Linked DNA regions of Homo sapiens: regions 2, 3, 4, 5, 6 and 7 are each linked to region 1. Evidence: promoter capture Hi-C in 16 types of primary human blood cells and fetal thymus (Javierre and others, 2016). All regions are on one chromosome and are shown on one strand. The core of a region is centred on a gene start or on the middle of the fragment in contact, and the rest is flanking DNA. Distances in the headings are between cores, read along the strand shown. Region 1 holds the start of FAM162A (family with sequence similarity 162 member A). Region 2 overlaps IQCB1 (IQ motif containing B1). Region 3 overlaps GOLGB1 (golgin B1). Region 4 has its middle 3.9 kb from the start of SEMA5B. Region 5 overlaps SEC22A (SEC22 homolog A, vesicle trafficking protein). Region 6 overlaps GOLGB1 (golgin B1). Region 7 holds the start of PDIA5 (protein disulfide isomerase family A member 5).

The links. The method cuts DNA at HindIII sites, captures the fragments that hold promoters and counts their contacts. A CHiCAGO score of 5 or more calls a contact.
Region 2: a fragment that was not itself captured here is called in contact with the fragment with the promoter of FAM162A in region 1 in 1 of 17 cell types (naive B cells); the score reaches 5.6 in naive B cells.
Region 3: a contact is called between a fragment that was not itself captured here and the fragment with the promoter of FAM162A in region 1, in 1 of 17 cell types (neutrophils). The highest score is 5.9, in neutrophils.
Region 4: a fragment that was not itself captured here is called in contact with the fragment with the promoter of FAM162A in region 1 in 2 of 17 cell types (total B cells and naive B cells); the score reaches 9.8 in total B cells.
Region 5: a contact is called between a fragment that was not itself captured here and the fragment with the promoter of FAM162A in region 1, in 8 of 17 cell types (naive CD4 T cells, fetal thymus, naive CD8 T cells and 5 more). The highest score is 11.1, in naive CD4 T cells.
Region 6: a contact is called between a fragment that was not itself captured here and the fragment with the promoter of FAM162A in region 1, in 1 of 17 cell types (total CD8 T cells). The highest score is 5.1, in total CD8 T cells.
Region 7: a contact is called between the fragment with the promoter of PDIA5 here and the fragment with the promoter of FAM162A in region 1, in 6 of 17 cell types (megakaryocytes, endothelial precursors, erythroblasts and 3 more). The highest score is 8.9, in megakaryocytes.

What each region holds. Positions count from the first base shown.
Region 1 is chr3:122,382,390-122,386,077 of GRCh38, reverse strand. It overlaps FAM162A (family with sequence similarity 162 member A), which reads right to left and starts at 1,896. Exons shown (of 5, transcript NM_014367.4): 1 at 1,779-1,896. The coding sequence starts at 1,812. MIX23 (mitochondrial matrix import factor 23) reads left to right here and starts at 2,847. Exons shown (of 5, transcript NM_001017928.4): 1 at 2,847-2,904. The coding sequence starts at 2,854. RefSeq lists enhancers at 1,712-1,761, 1,585-2,085 and a silencer at 1,852-2,001. The HindIII fragment of the contact is 2,247 bases long and covers 1,117-3,363 here.
Region 2 is chr3:121,785,356-121,789,151 of GRCh38, reverse strand. IQCB1 (IQ motif containing B1) reads left to right here. Exons shown (of 15, transcript NM_001023570.4): 12 at 720-868. Among named protein-coding and RNA genes, the nearest start is that of GOLGB1, 38 kb to the right of the region's middle. The HindIII fragment of the contact is 1,641 bases long and covers 551-2,191 here.
Region 3 is chr3:121,685,645-121,689,032 of GRCh38, reverse strand. The region is part of intron 14 of GOLGB1 (golgin B1); the gene reads left to right. Among named protein-coding and RNA genes, the nearest start is that of HCLS1, 26 kb to the right of the region's middle. The HindIII fragment of the contact is 9,188 bases long and covers 1-3,388 here.
Region 4 is chr3:123,029,982-123,033,253 of GRCh38, reverse strand. No RefSeq gene overlaps it. Among named protein-coding and RNA genes, the nearest start is that of SEMA5B, 3.9 kb to the right of the region's middle. The HindIII fragment of the contact is 211 bases long and covers 1,475-1,685 here.
Region 5 is chr3:123,203,982-123,207,261 of GRCh38, reverse strand. All of the region lies in intron 1 of SEC22A (SEC22 homolog A, vesicle trafficking protein), which reads right to left. Among named protein-coding and RNA genes, the nearest start is that of SEC22A, 3.7 kb to the right of the region's middle. The HindIII fragment of the contact is 3,731 bases long and covers 1-3,280 here.
Region 6 is chr3:121,709,831-121,713,250 of GRCh38, reverse strand. The region is part of intron 10 of GOLGB1 (golgin B1); the gene reads left to right. Among named protein-coding and RNA genes, the nearest start is that of GOLGB1, 38 kb to the left of the region's middle. The HindIII fragment of the contact is 696 bases long and covers 903-1,598 here.
Region 7 is chr3:123,064,748-123,068,297 of GRCh38, reverse strand. PDIA5 (protein disulfide isomerase family A member 5) reads right to left here and starts at 1,273. Exons shown (of 17, transcript NM_006810.4): 1 at 1,092-1,273. The coding sequence starts at 1,133. RefSeq lists a silencer at 979-1,218. The HindIII fragment of the contact is 10,820 bases long and covers 1-3,550 here.

The sequences.
Region 1 (3,688 bases), core at 647-3,146:
ATGAACAGCTTGAACAACAGCAAAAAGCACAAAAATTCCAGAATTAAAGGGTACCCTCTCCTGGCTCTAACATTTTTTGGCAAAGAGATCCTGGACAAGTCATCTCTGACCTATGTTTCTTCATTTATAAAGTGTGGGAGGAATAAGACTTACCTGAGAGGGCTGCTATGAGAAATCCATCCAACAAAATAATGTATATGAAAGTATTTAGCTATGAAGTGGGTGAAAGGTAGTAGGTTGTTGCGGAGTTGCTCACAAAGCATCAGACATTCGTGGAAGATCATATGGAGAGAGCTGCTCATATAACATCCTTAGTGTGCTATTAAAAATTTTATATCTGAAGTAAAATAAATTGTTCTTAAATCACTCAAGGAATTCTGCTTTGGTTAAGTGGTCAATAGTGAAGTTTTTACACATCAGAAGTTTGCAGAGATGCAAAAATATATTTATGCAAGATGCATAAATATATTCTCAAAGCAAGAAGATGAACTACTTACAATATACTCAGTATTAGTTCAAAGATGTCAAAGTAGTTCCAAGATGTCAAAGTTCTTTTCATGCAGTCCATTTTAACTTTTTTACAGAGCAATGATCCTTTCACTTGCCTTGTTGAAAAGCTTCATAATGTTAATAGGATGTACAGAAGATATTTTAGGTGAATTAGTTCAACAAAACTGACAAAATCAATGAAATCATAGTATTGAGGATTTTAGTGGAAGAAGTGTTTGCTTTTAAAGGAAGTAAATATAATAATACTCTCTAGTTTGAGACATGTTTTCCAGTCCATTCTCTACCGGAACACTAGATAAGCTGTGTAAAGGATAATCTTGAGGTGGGGAAGGTTATGTATCAAACTTGTGAAACTATGCAACATTCACTCTTTTTTTTTGCATTACTTCATTTACATTACAATATATATTTATATTATTTGAATAGCCAAGTTTGGGGCTATTTTTCCTTTAAAAATTTAATTAACAACTTTTTAATAATGTAGTGTGTGCCATTGAACAAAAGATCTCTGGTACCCAGAAAAGAGTCAAAATGCAAGCCCTCTGATTTCTCAACCCCTACTATGCCAAGGCTCTGCTGGTTCTCCCAAAAAAAAAGAATTAAGCTTTCATTACCTAAGTCCAAAATAGTCATCACACAAATGTCTACCACCAAAACAAACTGCAGATCCTTCAATTACACACTTCCTCCAAGAAATTCGAATCAATTAATTGTATAAGTGTTTAAAAGTAATGTATCCTCCATTTTAAGAAAACAATTATTATTAATCTCTAAGACCTAAATCCTTGGCCTAATCAGACATTTAATGAGTGGGGAAACTTCAGACTGGAGGTTTTCTGGGATAAACTCCAGAGAGGAAGGAGCAGGGGGAAGAGGGAAGACTCAAGGAGAGCAATAGATAGGGGAGGTTAGGGTGGAAAGCTGAATGCATGGGTAAAGGGGAGGTCTAGGGATAGTAGGTGCTTTACAGACTGAGCTCAGGGGAGGCTGAGGACGGGGGTGGGGAGAAGGGTAGGCGCGTGGGCAGTTAAGTTGGTGGGAGCTGGGTGGATGGAGATGAGGGTAATTCACGGGCAGTCTCCAATGCCTATCAGCAGCTGCTCACCTAGTTCCCTCCCACATGGCTACTAAGTAGGTAGGATTCTGAGGAACCGAGAAAGTGCGTCATGGAATGGAGCCACTCCGGGGCCCAGGAAGGCTTCAGGATTCCCCCACCCGCAGCGGCCGGGCCAGCTCCCCTACCTCCCATATCCCGACCGGCGTCTCACCTGCTGCCAGGCGCAGACCGCTGAGGCTCCCCATGGCCACTTGCTACTCCGCCGACCAGCGCAGAACTTCGCCGGGGACGGTGGCGCTGGTGAGCTCAATGTCACCCAGCGTTGGAGTGGGAAGGACGCAGGCGGCGCCGGGGGGCGGGGCGTGCGCGACGCGGTGTACAGGCCTGCGCCAGTGCGGGGCGTGTAGGACGTGCGCCACGCGCTGGAGACCCGCGGCGCCAGCCTAGTGCCCCTGGCGCCGCATCCTGAGCCAGCCTCGGAGATGGTCCTGTGGAGTGTGGCGCCGTGGGCCCTTGCCCTAGCGGATATGTACCCATGGGAGTACCTGTGTGAAATAGAAAGGAAATGTGCAACTTTCGTGATCTGTAAACTCCCGAAATACACCAGATAAACCAGTATTCCAGTATGCCGCTCTTCCAGTGTTTTCAATGAACATATGCTTTTATCAGAAAACACATAATTGGACTCTGCTCAGTGGCCCTATCTCTTGTTGGAGCATCCCTCAGGCTAATCTGAGAAATTAACATGTATGTTTTCAATTTGTTTTCTATTTACCTATTTTCTAAAAACATTTGATCATCTCCATCCTAAACACTTTACTCATACCCACCCACACTGCCAGAAATGCCGTTTTTTCTTGACGTTTCTTAGTGGTCCCAAATTCTTAACAAAGACCCCCCTGCTCCAGGGTCCGGGGAGGAGGTTAGGCACTGGAGTGAGAGGTATTAGAAAGGCCTCACTTGCCTAGATTTCCTTCAACGACCTGGTAGGGGAACCACAAGGAAATTGTTTCCCTTTTGTGAAAAGATGGGATTGGAGTAAACAGTCCCTTCAAGGTCTGACAATCTTTGATCCATGTATCTGGCCCAGTTCCAGGAGGACATGTTAAAAGGGTTGGGACAGCAGGGTGACAGGTTCCGAGGTGGATGCGGACCACGTTGAACTCAAGCCTTGCACTCAGCTTTCCTAAGGATTCCCCTCGTACTATATTTTTTGTCAGGCGACTCCGCGGTCACCTTTGCTCCGCGGTGATTGGCCTGCAGCGGGGTCCTCGTGTTTGTCCAATATGGCGGCGCCCAGTGGCGGTGTGAACTGTGAGGAGTTCGCCGAGTTCCAGGTGATGGGGTTTTCCTCATGTGGCAGGCATGTGCCTCCTTTTGTCCCCAGACCCTATTCCCTGCTTTGCGAGGGAGTATGAACCAGCTTTGGAAAAAGCGGGCAATTCAAAGCTCTTTTCTCGAGCCATTGGAGGTCATGGGGGGCGCGGGTTTGGCCTTAGGGAGCGAGGCTGCTCTGTAGGAGGAGGGAGGAGGGGGGTCATAGTTCTCTCCGCGGCTCTCCGGCCTTGTCTGGGAAGCTCTGGGTAATCTGCTGTGGTAAAGCTCGGGATGCGTGGATAAGGATTGTAACAATCTTGTAGCAGTTCCCTGAACTCAGTTTCCAGCTTCTGCCATTCCTCTCCTACTTTTGTAAGTAGAGTTTTTGTGGGAGAGAAGAAGGTGCAGAAGAGCTATTTAGTTGATAAAACATACTTGGTGCAATTTACTATTTTTGTGGGACAGGACGTATGGAAGCTTGGAGGGAGGATTAATTATAGTACCTGCTCTAGTGTCATTGCCCATTAGAGAAGATGTAATATTTAGAGGTTTTGCCTTTTTATGTTCAAATATCAGAGACCTAGGGCTAATTATTAACACCTGAATGCAAGAATAGGGATCTGGTTTTGACCAAGTTGCCATTAAAGTTATCTGTTCCAATTCAGTCATAAATGTGCTTCTGTTTAGTTACAAAGTTGAATTCCAAAATCATGATCTTAAATATGTATTGCATTATTAACTAACCCAAGATACTGAAAAATTGACCTATCTGTAGTAAGCTTTGTACTTTGAACGGTTTGAAGG
Region 2 (3,796 bases), core at 122-2,621, 600 kb after region 1:
TTTACCTGGATATCCACAGGCATCCCAAACACCAAAGTCATTATCTTACCCCTCAGATTTCCTTTTCCTTTATTCCCCATCTCAGGTAATGGCACCAACAACTTACTCAGTTTCCCATTTGAGACATCCTAGAGTCCTTTCCCTCTTTTACCTCCGTATCCAGTTGATCATTAAATTATATCAGTTTCTTATACTTCCCCAAATACGCCCCCCTTTTTATTAACAATTCTACTGCCTTATTCTGTCACATATATACTGTGAACCCTGGGCTGTATGCTGAGCAACTCCAAGAAAGCAAAAAGAAAGTCATCTGTATAACTGACTGAGTGACTTAAGAGAAATTTGGAAGCATGTAGAGTAGAGAACACATACACACATTTTGCCCTTTCCCTCTGGTGGTACTGAATGACTTCTTAATCATGTACTTAGGAATTTTTTTTTTTTTTTTTAGTGTTCTTTGTATTGGATTTTCAGCCATTTTCTTATTACTCTACCACAAAAATATTATATGAGTTCTTTCTGTGAAGAAGCTGCATAATCTGGGAAAGCTTTGTTTCTAAAATCTTAGAACCATGGTAAAATAGTAGAATTGGGAAAATTAGTGAACAATATTGACAAAAATAAAAAGAATGCAAGATTATTATTATCATTGTCCTGATTCCAGAACTTAAGAAAGCATGGCAGTGAGTATGTTGTAATAGTGTCTATCATCTTTTTAGGTCAGGTGGAGAAACACTATCGGGAAATGGAAGAGAAATCAGCACTGATTATCCAGAAACATTGGAGAGGGTACAGGGAAAGGAAAAATTTTCACCAACAGAGGCAGTCTCTCATAGAGTATAAAGCAGCTGTCACACTTCAAAGAGCAGTGAGTCTAATGTAGTGAAAAGAGCTCTGAATCAAGAGGCAAAAACATGAGTTCAAAACTGACTTTGCTAATTACCTGTTGTAAAGCCTTGGTCAAGACACTTAGTTTTCTTGAGCCTTAGTTTTTTCTTTTGTAAAAGAAAAACCCCTTACCTCTGGCCGAGCTGATTTAGACACTCAGTCCTTAGTACTGCCTTAGAACCTTGTACATCATTTACTATACTGCAATGTTGTTTTGTTAATTATTTCCCTTCTTACTTGGGCTGTGAGTTCTTCAAGAATAAGGAGCTAAGTCTTATTGTTGTCAGCTCATCACATGTGCTTGATGTATGAATAGATGTTTACCCTTACCCTTTTCACTCAGTTGTTATGTGGATCAGATACCCTAATTTATGGGAATGTATTTTGTAAATTACAAAGTTCTGTGCAAGTGCAGCATGTGATATTTGATTTTTTTAATGCACAGATGAGATATTAGGTATATTTAGATCATTATAACATTTTAATTGTAGAATTGTATTTTTTTTTTTTTTTTGAGACGGATTCTTGCTCTGTTGCAAGGCTGAAGTGCAATGGCACGATCTTGGCTCACTACAACCTCCGCCTCCCAGGTTCAAGCAATTCTCCTGCCTCAGCCTCCCGAGTAGCTGGGACTACAGGCATGCACCACCACACCCATCTAATGTTTGTATTTTTAATAGAGACGGGGTTTCACCATATTGGCCAGGATGGTCTCGATCTCTAGACCTCGTGATCTGCCCACCTCGGCCTCCGAAAGTGCTGGGATTACAGGCGTGAGCCACCGCTCCCGGCCTCTTATTCTTAAATAGCAATCTTTCTGTGATCTCTCTAGAGCATAGTACTATTTTGTTGCCTTGGAAAAGCATAGTACGAGGTGGTTTTTTAAATTTAATGACCAGTTTTCCTAACATCCCGTTGTTCTCTTATACATGGTTAACTTTCATATTAGGATTTCAGGTCCTATAGCATTTAGCTTAACAATCCTTACTGAATTTTTAGGTCAATTTCAGTTTTCTACTGTGACAGATTTTGAACAGTCTCTGTGATTAACTTTTTACAAAGTTTTTTTTTTTTAATCATCCAAAAAACATTGTAGAATAAATACTAGAGAAACAGGAAGAGATGCCTGTCTCCTACTCCTTCTTCAGGCTCTTCTGGGGATCTCAGATTGTGTCTGCAACAAACAATCCTGCACCATCACTGTATCACACGTACTCCTGATTTTTACTTTCTGCTAAACAAAGCCATCTAAGGGGTTAACCAGTTGATATTAGGGTTGGAGACACTTCCTTTGGAGGAAGCTTTGGCTTCTTTCTAATACTTTTACCTCATAAATACCTCCTTTTTAAAGTCTTCCCTGTCATAGAAATAGCTGGGTCCTTATTAGGTTGACTTACTACCTTGCCTGATTTAGATGACCCCAATACTTTGTAAAAGTATCCTGTACTGTAAAGTGAAATATCCTGGTTTGCCTACCATTTCTTAGAGAAAAAAGTAGGGGTCATCATAGGAACATATCTGAAGGCTACGAAGGCAAAGTTGTTTTGGCTTTTATACTTTCCATTGGCACGAAAGGAAGATTAGTCACATTTGCCTCATATCTCCTCTAGCTAAGAAAAGGAATGAGTCTCTGTTTAAGAGCAAAAAGGGATGGGTCAAGGTCATGTTTATAGTCTTTGCATCTCATTAATAAAAATAAGATGAAGTCAAAGCAAAGTTAGCCAAAATGGAAAAGGAAATAAGAGGATTACTTTTTTTTTTTTTTAAGAGACATGGTCTCACTCTGTCACCCAGGCTGGAGTACAGTGGTGTGTTCATAGTTCATCACAGCCTTGAACTCCTGGGCTAAAGTGATCCTCCTGCCTCAGCCTCCCTAAGTGCTGAGATTATAGGCATGAACCACCATGCCTGGCCAAGAATTACTTTCAAAGAAGGAAAAGAGAAAGAAAAATGGGAAAGTACACTGAGAAAATAAATAGAAAAATAGAGAAAATTAAAACAAGGCAATAGTCAATAAAGGGTACATTTTGCCATATTTTTAAAGCATCCTTTTCTTTTCTTTTCTTTTCTTTTCTTTTCTTTTCTTTTCTTTTGAGACAGAATCTCTCTCTGTCTCCCAGGCTGGAGTGCAGTGGTGCAATCATACCCCACTGGAGCCTTTATCTGCGAGGCTCAAGAGATCCTCCCACCTCAGCCTCCACAGTAGCTGGGACTACAGGCTTGCACCACCAGGCCCAGCTAATTTTTTTTTTTTTTCAGTAGAGACTAAGTCTCACTGTGTTCTCCAGGGTGGTCTCCAACTCCTGAGCTCAAGTGATCCTCCCACCTCACCCTCCCAAAGTGCTGGAATTACAGATGTGAGCCACTGCGCCTAGCCTAAAAGTATCCTTTTCTAAGACACACTAGAGATCTGCACTGTTCAATAAAATAATCGTTAAGCATACGTAGCTGGCTATGGAGAACTTGACATGTAGCTAGTCCAAATTGAAATGTGTTGTAAGTGTAAAATACCCACCAGATTTTGAAAATGTAGCATGAAAAAGAAGTGTAAAGTATCTCAGTAATACTTTTTTATATTGATTACATGATGAAATACTAATATTTTGTGTATATTGTTGTATGTTTTATATAACTGAGTAAATATTGTTTCGCCCATTTTTTATTTTCTTAATGTGACTACTAGAAAATTTAAAATTACATATATGACTCACCTTACATTTCTGTTGGCACTGCAACTGATCTTGCTAAGAAAAAAATGGGAAATAATTCATTAGCCTCATTGAAAGTAATATACCAGCCTGGGCAATGTCGCAAAACCTCATCTCTACTAAAAATACAAAAATTAGCCAGGCGTGGTAGCATGTACTGGTAGTCCCAGCTACTCTGAAAACTGAAGTGGGGGAAAATC
Region 3 (3,388 bases), core at 552-3,051, 700 kb after region 1:
CGGGGGGCTGACCCCCCCACCTCCCTCCCGGAGGGGGTGGCTGCCGGGCGGAGACGCTCCTCACTTCCCAGACGGGGTGGTTGCCAGGCCAAGGGGCTCCTCACTTCTCAGATGGGGCAGTTGCCAGGCGGAGGGTCTCCTCACTTCTCAGACGGGGCGGCTGGGCAGAGATGCTCCTCACCTCCCAGACGGGGTCGCGGCCGGGCAGAGGCGCTCCTCACATCCCAGACGGGGCGGCGGAGCAGAGGCGCTCTCCACATCTCAGACGATGGGCAGCCGGGCAGAGACGCTCCTCACTTCCTAGATGGGATGGCGGCCGGGCAGAGACGCTCCTCACTTTCCAGACTGGGCAGCCAGGCAGAGGGGCTCCTCACGTCCCAGACGATGGGCGGCCAGGCAGAGACGCTCCTCACTTCCCAGACGGGGTGGCGGCGGGGCAGAGGCTGCACTCTCGGCACTTTGGGAGGCCAAGGCAGGCGGCTGGGAGGTGGAGGTTGTAGCAAGCCGAGATCACACCACTGCACTCCAGCCTGGGCACCATTGAGCACTGAGTGAACCAGACTCCGTCTGCAATCCCGGCACCTCGGGAGGCCGAGGTTGGCGGATCACTCGCGGTTAGGAGCTGGAGACCAGCCCGGCCAACACAGCGAAACCCCGTCTCCATCCAAAAAATACGAAAACCAGTCAGGCGTGGCGGCGCGCGCCTGCAATCGCAGGCACTCGGCAGGCTGAGGCAGAAGAATCAGGGAGGGAGGTTGCAGTGAGCCGAGATGGCAGCAGTACAGTCCAGCTTTGGCTCGGCATCAGAGGGAGACCGTGGAAAGAGAGGGAGAGGGAGACCATGGGGAGAGAGAGAGGGAGAGGGAGAGGGAGAGCGAAAATTCTAATTTTTAAGATGAGCTCTAGTGAAAAGATTATTACCCCTAACTGTAGAGTGAGTTTTTCCTTTTTATTGTAGGTAATTGTATTCATTCCTATCTCACTTAATATCCCATATTTATAGACAGTCTTTCCCCTTTTGTAATCCGAACAAAGCCTCTCTGTTCAGTTATGGTTTTTACTTCCAACATACACATACTTGTTTATATTTTTTAAATAATTTGAGTTTAGCTGACTTTGCCCTGGGAGCTTGGCCTTTTGTCTGTCTTTTCAGACCGTAAATGCAAAAGGTTCTATTCATCAGGATGGTATGTGCCTCAAAGCTGTAATTTATGATATGCTGGTATTGATTATCTTCTAAGTCAAAATCTTTTTTCATGGAGCTGTTAGGATAGATTCTGAATTAGCTAACTATGTTTAATTCAGTGAATTGCTTTATTATTCTTATCTGTTATAAACACTAGGCACTAAACTTTGCACATTTTTGTCTGCTGGATAGTTACAGCCAAGCCAACTTTTTTATTTTCGTGTTTCTGTAATTCAGAGTCATATTATTCTGTTCCCAAATGCTCATAACTGTGATTTTATTTTAACCATCAAGATGTATCACTCCTTTATTCACAGTGTGCCTCAAGTATTTTTATTTTCCATCTTCAACATCCTAAGATAAGCTCTAACACTTTACCCTTAAACTGTTCTAATAATGTTGCTTCCAGGTTATCATCTCACCAGTATTTTCAGACCATCACCATATAAGTCTTTCTGAAACTCTACTGTATTACTGCACTACTCAAAAATATTTAAAAGTTGTACTATCTCTAGAATAGACTTAGTATTCAAACCCCCTTTAGTCTGGCATTTAAGACCCTGTTTTTTTGTTTGTTTGTTTTTTGAGATGGAGTCTTGCTCTCTCACCCAGGCTGGAGTGCAGTGGTGCAATCTTGGCTCACTGCAACCTCCGCCTCCCAGGTTCAAGCAATTCTCCTGCCTCAGCCTCCCAAGTAGCTGGGACTACACCATGCCTAGCTAATTTTTGTATTTTTAGTAGAGATGGGGTTTCACCATATTGGCCAGGCTGGTCTTAAACTCCTGGTCTCAAGTGATCCACCTGCCTCGGCTCCCAAAGTGCTGGAATTACAGGCGTGAGCCACCACACCTGGCCAAGACCCTGTAATTTATCCATACCTTTCCAGCGTTCCCTTTTACTGCTCCCTACTCATACCCTTCATTCACACCAAACTGATCTACTCAGTATGCAATAATCACACCTGGTACTTCCTACTTACCCATATTATCTTCAGCAGCCAAAATGTTCTCCCAATTGCTTTCCTTTTTTGAGTGTCTATTTCCCACTATTTAAAGGTCATTCCAGAGCTCAGATCCTCTTCTTACATTTCGTGATTGCCTGATTGTCTTTTGCCTTTGTACTTCCCTAGTATTTTACTTATCATTTGTCCCATATTGCCTTATTGTGTGTGTGTGTGTGTGTATATGTTTAATTTCTGTACACTATTTTTTATTTCCCCAATTAGATTGCAAACTCCTGGTAAGTGTCATGTCTTATACTTATTTGTACATCTTTAGCATAGAACTGACTAAGCAGATGACATATCTCTAGGGGTGCCTGTATTTATCTATACTCTCCTCATTCTGAAAATGACTTGGGGTAGCATATAAAGATATAAACAATTTTTCAAGATAAAATAAAAGGGACTGAGAAGGAGGAGAAAAAGAGGATAGGCTAGAAAAAGATCAAACCAGGAGTAAGGTTAGTGTCCCAAGGGGAAGTCACCATATCCTGTACTGTGTTAGAAAGAGGGATCCATAGTTTGCTCTGAGGTTTCTATTAGCCATCAGAAAGAGGGAATGAAAACCGCATGCATGAACTGCAGTATTTATAGTCTAGGAGAAAAGGAGAAAGAAAAATCACCTACTCAAGACAAGAATAGTCTTTAAGTATTGAGGCCTGTAAGAAATTTCTTCTGTGTTCCCATAAAGAGAACACTGTGCAGTTGTGAAACATCCATTACTTCTCTACAGTAAATATAATAATGTGTTTTTTAGGGTTTTTATTTAGCTGTCCCTTAATGTAAGTGCAGAGCAAAAGAATTACGTCCAGTTCACTAAAACTACCACTCCAAGGAGCTAAAATGCAGTCCCAGGCACACAGCTTTCTGATGGTCCATTCTAGGATACCTCTAGTCTAGTATCTAGACTAGAGGAGTGAGTGGATTGCATAAAGGAATATGTTTTTACCTTAAATCAAAACAAAAATATGTTTTGGGGTTTGGGTTAAAAATAAAGTTATATGACCCATATTTAATTAGTCACTAAATTCTACAATGTTTGGTGGGAAAAGCTAAGAGTAGCACTACCTCAACCCCATTTCTTCTGAGGCAATTTGCTTTCAACCCTTTTAGCTTATTCTTTCAGTATTTCCTGTGTATGTAAATATCATGCTTATATTGCATTTTTGGCTCTTTGTTGCATCAACTATTGATTTTCTTTA
Region 4 (3,272 bases), core at 331-2,830, 650 kb before region 1:
TCTGTGCCAGCTGAGCAGGAAAGAGGAAAGCAGAGAGGTGCTTATGAGTGCTCAGGAAGAGAGATGTGATTACCCCTGGGTGTCAGCCCGAGGCCAAGCTACAAAGCCTGCCTTCCCAATCTCTCACCACACCCTTGACTTAGGACTGTATGAAGAAAAACTAGAAATGTAACACAGGGAACAAAAATGGTTCCAGAAAAATTGCGTGTATGTGGGATTGATGAACACTTTTTGTGGGTTTCAGAGCTAATTCTCCCCTCTGTTGTGATTTGGAATGCTGCAGGTGGTTAACTGGGTTGAAAAACAATTAGCATGTTTTACTATAATATACATTTTCTATTAAAGAGTTTTTAAGTGCTAATATAAATATTAACTAATAAGCAATTGGAGAAAAAAATTTATATGGAAAAATCTCAGTTCAAGCCTAGCTCTGAAAATTACCAATTGCATCCCTGATTCCTATCTGTAAAATGAGGATAATAATCATTCATTTATTAAATCATTATTTTGTACCTTTAAAAGAAACCACCAAACAAACAAAAACCAAGCCCTGTTCTGTAAGCTGGGGCTATAGTGATGAACAAAGCAGGCAAGGCCTCTGCTCCTGTGGAATTTATATTCTGGTCAGGGGAGACAGACAATAAATATGTACAATGTCAGATGGTGATAATGACAAGTATTTGTCATTTTTGAAAAGATGGTAATACATCTCTGATGAATTGATATTTGAGCAGAGATTAAAGGAAGTGAGGAAATGACCTATGTGGACATTTGGCAAAAGAGCTTTCCAGGCAGAGAGAGCATCAAGTACAAAGGCCTTGAGGTGAGAGCCTTGGGTGTGTGAGGAATAGCAGAGAGGCTGGGGAAGCCTGAGAGAAGTGAGGATAGGGAGAGCGCTAGCAGATAATGTCAGACAGGCCTTGTGGGGCTGCTAAGGCTTTTTCTCTAGAGAGCTGGGGAGCCATAGAAGGTTTTTGAGCAGAGGAGTGATAGGATCTGAATTAGGACAGCTTCCGTGTGGAGAACAGACTGTAGGTACAAAGGTTAGAAATGGCAGAGCAAACATCCAGGGGAGAGAAGAGAGTGGTTTGAACTAGGGCACAAGTAGAAGAGGTGGGGAGAAATGGTAAGATTCTGAAAATATTTCAAAGATAGAGACGACAGGATTTATGGATGGTCTGAATGGAGGGTATGAAATGACTTCAAGCTTTTGACCTTGAGGAACTGGAAGAATGGAGTTTTTACTTACTAGGATGGGGAAGACTGAGGGAGGAGCTGGCTTGGAAAAACAAATCAGAAGTTAAGTGTTGGGTATGTTAAGATAGAGATGTCTCTTAGATGGTCATGCAGAGGAGGGGCAGGCAGTTGGTTCTATACATCCAGATTTTAAGAGAGAGCGAGAGGGCCGGAGCTGCAGATACAAACTTGGGCATCATCCGCACAGAGAGGTTTACAGCCAGTGACTGGACAAGCTTATCTAGGTCTTCAGTGTAGCTGTCTCCCTCACATGGCTGTGAAGGTCAAAGGGGATAGTATATGGCAAATAGTTTTGTAAACTGTAAAGTGCTATACACAAGGAAAGGAACAAGTGTGCAAATACGGTAAAGAGCATAATGTAGAGCAGGATTTAAAGAAGTATCTTCAGGTAGAGACAGAATCATAGAATACATGTGCAAGGAGAAGCTTACAAACCAGTGGATCAACCCCTTTCATTTTATCCAGGAGGAGCTAAGGTTGGAGAGATTAAGAGGCTTGTCCAAGGACACTCAGCTCATCAGTGGCCCAGCTCATCCTAGGACTGGGGAGCCCTAACTGCTGGTGCGGTGCTCTTTCCACCACATGAAACACCTGCTCACATTTACTGCTTCAGCTCTCTCTGAATCTGTTAACCAGGGGCAAGTAATTCTTCAAACAGAAATCTAATTATATCGCCTTGTGCTTTTATACATGCTACTTCCTCTGCCTGGAATACTCTGCCTCCTCCTGCTTCTCTGTCTGGCAAATTCCTGCCTTATCTTCCATTCTCAGCTAGAATGGCCATTTCCAATGAAGACTTCTTTGTCCTGTTTGGTAGGATGGTAACTGGCTCTCCATGTGCCCGCAGAGCTCCCATCCTGTGGCAGTCCTTGCATTTGCTATGATTACGTCTGCCTCCCCTGCCTGCCTGTGAAGCTCTTCCTATGACCTCTCTGCCTAGCTTAGTGAGTGACACTTAAATGGGAAGGAAGGAAGGAAGGAAGGAAGATCTCTTCTTTCACATTAGTTCAGGACAATGGCAAAGCAGTCATTCAGTGACACTTCAGTTCCTCTGACCTGAGCAAGGTTTTGGTTCACAAATTGACAATGACTTCTGGGGTGGGAATTTTCTTTTTTCTTTGCCATCCCCAGGCACAATGAGCAGGCAATTCTGGGAGCAGAAAACAATTTGGACATTATACGTGCTGTCTTTTTATTTTCAATTCTCTGTCTCCTATTAGTATATGACTGGCTGTTTGCCTTTTGCTGCAAGACAAGGTTTGTGTTTGTGCCTGGGCTATGCACAAGCATGTGTACACACACACACACACATAGAGGGGAGAGAGAGAGAGAGAGAGAGAGAGAGAGAGAGAGAGAGAGAGAGAGAGAGAGAGATGGCCTCTTGGGAGAGCCTGCACTCATTTTTTAGCTTTATCTCCCAGAAAATGCCCTCAGGTGGGAGGAAGAAGACAGTGTTGTGCTCCTAGCTTTTCCACCCTTTCCTGCTCTTGAGCATGAGAATTTGGATCTATTTCTTAAACTCTTTCAACCTTAGTTCAAGATAAGTTTGGAATTTCTAGGTCAAGAGTGAATCCTAAAAACTCCGTCACCCCCTATATTCACCGCTCTTTAGCTTGTTTGCTTGAGATAACACTGTGTTAATTACTATATTTCCATTCTGCTTAATTACAATGTTTCGGTAGAAGAAGAATTGCTCCTAACAGAAGCAATTATCTTATAGGTTATTGCAAAGGTCTAAGGAAGGTGGCAGAAGCTGGTTGTGATACTGTGGTGATGGAATCAATGCTCCAGGTTTTGTTCCAAGTAAATGATTCAGAGATTCTAACCAGGCTGGGTTTGCCAAAGAGCAGGTGGTAAGCCAGGCCAGTAAAGAAACTGTCTCTTCCGGAGGGTTGGGCTTCTGAAGCTCTCTTGTATTGAGAGCTCTTGAGTAATCACTGTTAATCAATACAATGCTTTAGGATGCAATTAGGATTAATTAGCCCAATGTTGCTAGCTGCCCTGCTACTTGGTCT
Region 5 (3,280 bases), core at 584-3,083, 820 kb before region 1:
GTGAAGTCAAAATATGACTTCCCATTCATGGTGATAACTGATCTGACAATAAAAATTAACCCAACTAATAAATCTAATGCATTAAGTTCACTATCCCTTTTTCCTCTTTTCATGAGGAAAAAGGAGAAATCTCTAGGTGTTACTGTGTCATTACCCTTTAATATTTTTCTCCTTCAGAGACAGGGTCTCACTGTGTCACCCAGACGAGTGTAGTGGTGCGATCTCAGTTCACTGCAACCTCCACCTCCCAGATTCAAGCAATTCTCATGCCTCAGCCTCGCGAGTAGCTAGGATTACAGGCATGCGCCACAACACCCAGCTCATTTTTGTATTTTCAGTAGAGATGAGGTTTCGCCATGTTGGCCAGGCTGGTCTCAAACTCCTGGCCTGAAGTGATCTGTCCACCTCAGCCTCCCAAAGTACTAGGATTACAGGCATGAGCTACCACGCCCAGCCTCTCCATTCATTTAAAGAGAAAAATATCCAGAAGCAAATTAGTCTTTTTACTACAGTGGAGTCTTCAAACTGAAGTCCCAGTGTGACATATCCCAATTGGTGTTTTTTTCCATTCATCTAGTTTTTTTCTCTCCTAAAAGCAGTAGCATGAAAAAGTTGGGATCCCTGAAGAGATATCTATACTATAAACCCCTCTTTAATTTTTTTTTTACCATGTTTTACTTAATTATTAAATCACAATTGTAACATTTAGCCTAAGTGTAAGAAAGTAGGAAAATGTCTTACTCTATCCCCTTAAGCGTTTATTATTTAACTATAAAACTGTTGTCTTTCCAGAAGTACACTGCAACACAATAACCATTCTGGGAATTAATTTGAGGGTGAGTTGTAACTTGCAGTTCTAAATACCCACATTTTAGTATTTAAAAGCAGATTGGATGGGGTGCCATGGCTTATACCCATAATCCCAACACTGCTTGAGGCCAGGAGTTCAAGACCAACCTAGAAACATGGTGAGGCTCTGTCTCTATAAAAAAAATTAAAAATCAGCTGGGCATGGTGGCACACGCCTATAGTACTTGCTTTGGGGAGGCTGAAGCAGGCCCAGGAGTTCAAGGCAATGGTGAGCTATGATTGTGCCACTGCAGTCCAACCTGGGTGATGAGAGAGATCCTGTCTCAAAAAGTAAAATAAAAGTAGACTGTATTATTTTATGTCTGGCCTCTCTAGGATCCTAATAGAAATATTATGAATAGACTTCATTAATAGGTTGCCAAATTTCATGTAGTCTTCAAAGTTATTCTTTAGTGACTTGGAGGACAGATCAATAAATATATGATCCATGCTTTCTAAAACACATACTGTAAAAAGAATACAATTTGTAAGTTCCATTCGTTTACCAAACATTTACTGAATATCTAATGTGTCCCATGAATTATGCCAGATAGCAGGAATGAAGAGTCCTACCATCAAGAAACATCACTCCTCAATTAGAGAAACTCAGTTGAAAAGAGCAAACAATGCAGGTGTGTTGCCCACCACTTCACTAACTGGAAAACTAAAGTTGGACAAACTTACATTTCAAATACTCCTTTTTTTGTTGTTTTTTTGTTTTGTTTTGTTTTGTTTTGAAACAGGGTCTCACTCTGTTGCCCAGGCTGGAGTGCAATGGCTCACTGCAACCTCTGCCTCCCAGGTTCAAGCGATTCCCCTGCCTCATCCTGCCAAGTAGCTGGGATTACAGGTGCCCGCCACCATGCCTGGCTAATTTTTGTATTTTTAGTAGAGATGGGGCTTAACTGTGTTGGCCAGGCTGGTCTCAAATTCTGACCTCAAGTGATCCACCTGCGTCGGCCTCACAAAGTGCTGGGATTACAGGTGTGAGCCACTGCGCCCAGCCTCAAATTTTCCTAATATGTACTTTAGCCTTTAACCAAAAGCAGAACACAGTAGTTACATTCCCTGTCAAAATTATTACAAGGTTGTCAGAGAATGGTTTCTACTTATCCATAGATAAGATTTTTCTTAGGGAAAAAATTAAACCTCTTTCTACCACAGTAATTTGATTCAGCATCCAAAGCACTTGAATTTAAGCCTGACAAACGGGGATGAATGTCCAATGATCAACGTCAGGCTTAACTAATTTGTAGACAGATTCCAACCACCTTAGGCTAAGCTGTCTCTCCATCAATTCAATAAACATACCCCTACTTTTTTTCTTTTTACCACGGATTCATAATATAGTTTGTTTTTTTTTAAACTAATCTTATCTGGACTGTGCTAGCAGAAAAGGAAATCTGTCCATGTCAGGCCTAAGCTAGGTTAAAGTATCTTTAAGGTCTTAAGGAGGGTTGTGGTTGGGAAAATCCCAAGGAAGAACCAGTGGAACTGTGGAAAGCAAGAGATTACAACAATTGCATGGGAAGATTTAGGAGTTTTTAGCTTATCGGGGCCATAGATAAATGTTTAGGGCACTGGGCCATTTCTCCTCACCTTTAATACAGAGAAAATATTACACCTGCCTTTGTACAGCAGCAGTTAACTCACAGGGAACCTGAATAGTGGCTATTTTTTCCTCTCCCCATCAGCAACTGTTGGAGGAAAAAGCACAAGCTAGAATCTAGGTAAATCTGGGTAAACTTTTATGTAAAGGCTGAGGAAAATAAATTCCCACAATGCCAAACTACTATAGTAGTGGTTAGCAAGTTCCTGGACCCAAGATAATAAGACACCCCTCTTCTTCAGAACCTTGTAGGGGTAATGACTACAGGCTCAATGTCTCAGGAAGTTATCTCTCAAAAGGTAATAAACAAAGCCCAACATGTAAGTGGATTTTGTATATACGTTCTAACCAAATGCTTTCACAAATGCCACTTTTAAGATAAAAACATTTTATACTGGGGGCAAAAGCACTCATATTTATTTTAGTTCATAACTTCCCAGTCTTCAGTCATCCAAGTACCACTTTCAGAATTATCTTCATCCACCTGTACTATTTACCTAATATTGGTCTTTGAATTGACTTACTTTTCTTGTCCTTTATTTTTTAGCAATAATATCTGTGAAATCAGTTTTGAGATGTTAAGTTTTTCTCCTAATTTAAATTAAATGAACTTGTTTCATTCAAATATGTATGTGTGTGAAAATTTGGGGAGAATTTTTTAATGTTCATTTGCTTATCAAATTATCTTGCATATGTGACAGTACCAAAGTTTGGGAAACAATACCAATATGGTACATATTATTTTATTAAAAGTGCTCGCTGAGGGTGGGGGATAGAGTGGGTGATAAAGGGGATGGAATTTCCGCCATTTTGCCTATGCCT
Region 6 (3,420 bases), core at 1-2,500, 670 kb after region 1:
CTTTGCTGGGTCATAGAGTACCTATGTATTTAGCTTTATAAGGAACTGCCAGGTCTTTTCCCAAAGTGGTTGTACTATTTTTTTTTTCCAAGACGGAGTCTTGGTCTGTCGCCCATGCTGGAGAACAGTGGTGCGATCTCGGCTCACTGCAACCTCGACCTCCCGGGTTCAGGCAATTCTCCTGCCTCAGCCTCCCAAGTAGCTGGGATTACAGGTACCCGCCACCACACCCGGCTAATTTTTGTATTTTTAGTAGAGACAGGGTTTCACCATGTTGGCCAGGCTGGTCTCAAACTCCTGACCTCGTGATCCGCCCACCTCGGCCTCCCAAAGTGCTGGGATTACAGGCATGAGCCACCGCACCTGGCTGTGGTTGTACTATTTTATACTCCCACCTAAAATATATGAGAGTTCCATTTGTTCCACATCTTCTCCAAGATTTGGTGGTGTCAGTTTTAAAACATTTTAGCCATTCTAATGGGTATGTAGTGGTATTTCATTGTGGTTTAAATTTGCATTTCCCTGATGACAAATTATGTTGAACTTTTTTTCTTGAGATTCTTAGCCATATGTACACCTTCTGTTGGTGAAGTGTCTGTTCACATCATTTCCCCATTCTTAAATTTGAGTTGTCTTTTTATTATCAAGTAGGAATTCTTTATATATTCTGAATGCCAATCTATTATCATATATGTTTGGTGAATATTTTCTCCCATGCTGTGGCTTTGTGGCTTGCCTATTCATTTTCATTATGATATCTTTTCATTAGCACACACTTTTAAATTTTGATGAGCTTAATTATTTATCATTTTTTATTGTTTTTTTTTTCTGTGTCCTGTCTGTGAAACCTTTGCTTAGCCCCAGTTTATGAAGATATTCTCTTATGCTTTCTTCCACAAGCTTTATGGTTTTAGTTTTCATTTGAAGTCTCTGAATCTCAAATGAATTTTTGTGTGTGTTGTAAGGTGAAGGTCAAGTTGTTTTGTTTTTTCCTGTACGGATATTTCGTTGTTTCAGCACCATTTCGTAAGGAGACTTTACTTTCCTCATTGGATTCTTTTGGTACCTTTGTTGCAAATCAAAGACTAATACATCTATTTCTGAATTTTCTGTTCTGTTATATTGATCTATCTGTCAGTCCCTATGCCAGTATCACGGTCTTCATTATTGTAGTTTGTTGTTAGTCTTGAAGTCAAGTATTAATAGTATAAGTCCTCCAACTTTGTTCTTCTTTTCAAGATTGCTTTGACTATTCCAGGTCCTTTCCACATAAATTATACAATCAGCTTCTCAAATTCTACTTTTTAAAAAAAGACAGATGAGATTTTGAATTGGTATTGTGTGGAGTCTATTGATCAGTTTAAGAATTGACAACACTACTGTACTTTTAAATCTACGAATATAGTATATCTCTCCATTTATTTAGATCTTTAATTTCTTTCAGCAGTGTTTTGTAGTTTTCATTGGAGAAATTATGCACATTATAACATTTATTCTGAAGTAGTTAATATTTTTGATACTATTATAGATGGAATTATTTTTATTTCATTTTCCAATGTATGCTAATATGTAAGTATACAACTGAATTTTATTAAGCTTATATTCTGTGACCTTGATAAACAAATTAATTTTATTGGTTTTAGTCTCTTTTTGTAGATTCTCTAGGATTTTCTATGTAAGCAATCATGTCATCTGAAAATAAAGACAAATTTTACTTCTTTCTAATTTTTATGCCTCCAGTACACTGTTTAATAGAAGTGGTGAGACTGGACTTTCTTGCATTGTTTCTAATCTAAGAGGAAAGTGTTCCATAATTTACCATTGGCTGTGATACTAGTTTTAGGTTTTTAAGGAATTTCCTCTATCAGATCATCCTCAATCTTGTAGAGGAATTTTTCTCTTAGTTTTTTTGATATTTCTTAATTTTTTCTTAATTTTTAAAATAAACTTTCTCTTAATTTTTTTTTTATATTTCTAGGCTATGTGATTCTTCTATGAGTAATAACAAATGTCTAGTTGTAGCAATCCTCCTAAAAATTTTTCTATTTATTTATTTTTTGAGATGGAGTTTCACTGTTGCCCATGCTGGAGTGCAGTGGTGTGATCTCAGCTCACTGCAGCCTCCATTTCCCAGGTTCAAGTGATTCTCCTGCCTCAGCCTCCCAGGTAGTTGGGACTACAGGTGTCCACCAACACCCCCGGCTAATTTTTGTTACTTTTAGTAGAGACAGGGTTTTGCCATGTTGGCCAGGCTGGTCTGAAACTCCTAACCATACCTCCTAACCATTGGTGATCTACCCGTCTTGGCCTCCCAAAGTGCTGACATTACAGGCGTGAGCCACTGCGCCTGGCCTTTTTTTTTTCTTTTTTTAAAATTTTACTTATTTTTTTGTTTTGAGACAGAGTCACTCCATCACCCAGGCTGGGGTGTAGTGGTGTGATGACAGCTCACTGCAGCCTCAACCTCCTGGGCTTAAGTGATCCTCCCGCCTCAGCCTCCTAAGTAGTTGGGACTACAGGCACATGCCACCATGCCCGGCTATTTTTATGTGTTTGTTTGTTTGTTTATTTATTGGTGGAAATGGAATTTCATCATGTTGCCCAGGCTGGTACAGAACTTCTGGACTCAAGCAATCCCCCTCCCTTGGCCTCCCAAAATGCTGGAATTATAGGCATGAGCCACCACACCCAACCCCAATACATTTGTTGAAAAAAATGTGCATATATAAGTGAACTCATGTAGTTCAAACCCATATTCAAGAGTTAACTGTATTATCCTTTTTCTATAGTACTGAATTTGATTTGCTAATATTTTGTGAAGGATTTTTGTGTTCTTATTTATGAAGGATATTAGTCTACAGTTTTCTTGTTTTATGATATCTTTATCAGGTTTTGGTATTAAGGGTATGGCAGCCTCATAATATGTTCCCTTTTCTATTTTCTGGGAGTGTTTCCTTTCTTTCTATTTTATGAGAGTTTGTATGTGATTGGTATTATTTCGGTTTTTGAAAATAATTTTTTAAATACTTTTTTTTAAAAGAATTCACCAATGAAACCATCTGAGTCTGGAGTTTTAGGAAGGTTTTGATAATGAATTGAATTTCCTTTACAGATATAAGGCTAATAATAAGATTTTTTTTTTTTTTTCCACCCGGTGCCAGTTTTGGTTTGTTTGGGCTTTTTTTTTTTTTCCTGGGGTTTTGTCTATTTCATTGAAGATGTTCTAATGTTCTATTTTTGTCATAATGTTGGTTACAATGTTTACTTTTTATCCTTTTAATGCCTGTAAGCGCTGATCCCTGCTGTTGTTAATTTGTGCTTCATTTTCTTCATCAGTCTATCTAGAATTTATTCAGCTTTTTTCCCCCATCTTTTCAAAGAACCACTTTTGGTCTTGTTAATTTTCTCTGTTGCTGATTA
Region 7 (3,550 bases), core at 24-2,523, 680 kb before region 1:
CAACTCAACCCACACTTTTCTCCTCCCATTTGCCCAGTGTCCTTGCCACACCCAAATGGAAAAGAACGGGAAAATCTGGGTTGGGGGGAGGGTGCCAGGAACAGGAAGTTCCCTGGAACTTCAGGGGAAAAGGACCAGGATGGTCCTAAAATAAGGGAGCGCATAAGTTATGGAAAAGATGGGGAAGGAGGCCACAATATCTCATCACACACCCACAGCGAAACGAAGGCCAAACCCCAGACCTGGGCCGGCAGGCACACCCATTCCGACCTCTCTCAGGGATGCCTGGAGTCCCCCCCACCAAGTGTAGCAAACTACTCTTGGAGTCCACTCCTTTTCCACTTTTGTAAGATTTTGCAGTTTACACAGCTTCCTCCACTGAGACCTCATCCGACTCTCAGAACCACCCTATGGGGGTAGCTTTGCCTTTCTATATCATGCATGAGGAAACTAGCTCAGATACATTAAATGAACCGCCGCGTCACACAGCTAGAAAGTGGCTGAGGCTCGAGCCCGCCTCAGTTGGGTGTAGGAGCAGCTCCTCCGCCGGGGCGGGCTACGTCGACCCCACCCAGCCCACCGAGCCTGGCCTGTGGGCGGAGGCCCAGGTGGTGGCCCGCAGTTTCCCAGACGCCTGGGGCCGAAGCCAAGAACAAGGTGGCCCTAAACCAAGGTTTCCGGCAGTGCAGGTAGTAAGCACCCCCATCCCACCCCGCACTCACACAGGTGCAGGGCTCGGAGTCTGGAGCGGAGCTCACCCCGCAGCCCGCCGGCGTCCTGCCCGACCGGCTGTGCCCCGACCTGCATCCCCGCAAAGTTGTGGCCGTGGCGTAAGCACCCTGCCAGGGATCTCCCGGCGCCCCACAGCTGCCTCCTGCCCCTGCGTCCGGGAGCGCTTGGCGGCGAGGGCACCGGGACGCCCGCTGTCTCCCGCGTAGCACCCAGTGCCCGCCTGCCTGGCATGCACGCCCTCATCCCGGTGCCCCGGGGCAGCTCCCCGCACGTTCCGCAGAGGGCTGGAGCAGAGAGCGCAGAAGGGCACGCGGGACACACGTGCTGGCCCGGCCCGGATCCCTGCCCCACAGTCTCACCCAGATTGCCAGCAGCAGCCACGCCGGCCCGGCCCGCGCCATCCCAGCAGCGCTGCCCACCGCTGGCTCCTTTCTCCACTCCGGCGCCCGCTCCCGCCCGCCCGCCTGCTAGCTCCACCGCGGCCAACCACCACGGCCACTTCCCAGCCGCTCCCCGCCTCCGAGTTCCCGGTGCCACGTCTGCCAAAGCATGCGCAGCAGCTGGGGAGAGGCGGCCGGGAAGAAGTGCTCGCTGGGAGTTGTAGTCTGCAGCCTGGCTCAGCTGGGGGCTGCGGGTGCGGACTGGGCTCCGAGGCCACGTGGCAGCGAGTGAAGTGCGAAAAGGCAAGGTCAGGGAGTAAGGGAAGGCAATTAATGAGCGGGGGCTTACTCTGTGCCTGGAGCTTCAGAAACAGTATCTCACGCAGCTCACAGAAATTAGGTTTTATTTTCTCCACTTTGAGGATTAGGAGGCAGCGCAGGGAATTTAAGTACGTTGATCCAGATCACACAGCCGGTAAATGGCAGAGTCCAGGGCTGCCTGTGAAGGACAGGAAAAGCCCTCATCCCTGCCTCCCAGACTCCCTCCTGCTTATTCTATTTAACTTCAGTAAAACATTATTGAGCTGTTGGAAAACAATCTGGTGGTTCCTCAAAAAGTTAAACATAGATTACTATATGACCAGCAATTCCACCCTTAGGCTAATACCCAAAAGAATTGAAAACAGGTATTCAGACAAATGCACGTACACCAGTGTTCACAGCAACACTATTTACAATAACCAAAAGGTAGAAACAACTCTAACGTCTGTCAAAGGATGAATGGGTAAACAAAGTGTGATACATCCATCTAATGGAATGTTATTTAGCCATTAAAAGGAATAAAGTGGCCCAGCAGGGCAGCTCATGACTGTAATCCCAACACTTTGGAAAGCTGAGGCAGCAGAATCGTGTAAGACTAGGAGTTTGAAACCAGCCTGGGCAACATAGCAAGACCTCATCTCTGCTAAAAATAAAAATAAAATAAAATAAAATAGCTGGTGTGGTGGCAAGGGACTGTAGTTCCAACTACTTGGGAGGCTAAGGCGGGAGGATTGCTTGAACCTGGGATATGGAGACTGCAGTGAGCCAAGATCATGCCACTGCACCCCAGCCTAGGCCACAGGGTGAGACCCTGTCTCAAAAAAAAAAAAAAAAAAAAAGGTGGGGGGGAGAGAATAAAATGCTAATACATTCTACAATGAATGAATCTCAGAAATGTATGCTAATGAAAGAAGCCAGACACAAAAAGTCACATATGATGTGATTACATCTTATGAAATATTTAGAATAGGTAAATCCACAGAGACAGAAAGCATAGTAGTGGGGGTGGGGAGGAAGGAATGGGGAATGACTGCTTAATGAGTATAGGGACTCCTTTGGGAGTGATAAAACATTTTGGAACTAGATGGAGATGATGGTTCCACAACATTGTGAAGGTACTAAATGCCACTAAACTGTACACTTTAAAATGGTTAATTGATGTTATGTGAATTTTACCTGAGTAAAAATTTTCAAAAGAAAAAAACTCTTTATTGAACCCATTCCCTGTGCTAAAGCAGGGGTCCCCAAACGCTGGGCCTCTGGACAGTCTGTGGCCTGTTAGGAACCAGGAGGCAAGCTGTGGGCCAGCGAGCATTACCACCTGAGCTCTGCCTCCTGTCAGATCAGTGGTGGCATTAGATTCTCATAGGAGTGTGAACTCTATTGTGAACTGCACATTCAAGAAATCTAGGTTGTGGGTGCCTTATGAGAATCTAATGCCTGATGATCCGAGATAGAACAGTTTCATCCCAAAACCATCCCCTGTCCCCCCACCATCTGTGGAAAACTTGTCTTCCACAAAACCGGTCCCTGGTGACAAAAAGGTTGGGCCCTGCTGTGCTAAAGCATTCTTGCATGCAGTCAGTTCATACATTCAAGAATGTTTATTGAACACTTACTATGTCCTGAGGCTCAAGATATCCAGTAGTGAGATGAACAAGAGAACAGCACAGTCAGAGGTTGGTAAGTTATAGCTGAAAGGTCCTTGCCTTCTGTCAGGAGAGTCAAAGCTCAAAACTTAGAAGTTATCCATTACTCGCTTCCTATTCACAACAGGCCCATCCAACCCCTCACCACATCCTGTCAATTTTACCTCCAGAATATATCTCTCCTGCCACCTCCCAAGTCTAAGTGACTATCACCTAGGGAAGGGTAACAGTTTCTGAAAGAGTGTGCCTGCTTCTCCCCCATGCCATCCATATGTTAATGTCAGTTGGATCTTGCTTGCCCCTCCCCTGAAACCCTCCAGTGGTTTCCCATTACCCTTAGAATAAAATCCAAACTCTTCCCAAGACCTGCAAGCCCTGCATGGTCTAGGCCCTCGCCCGCCCGGTAGACCTCATCTCCTGCCTCCCACAACCCCTGTCCACTGGGTCCAGTTACACAGACCATCATTT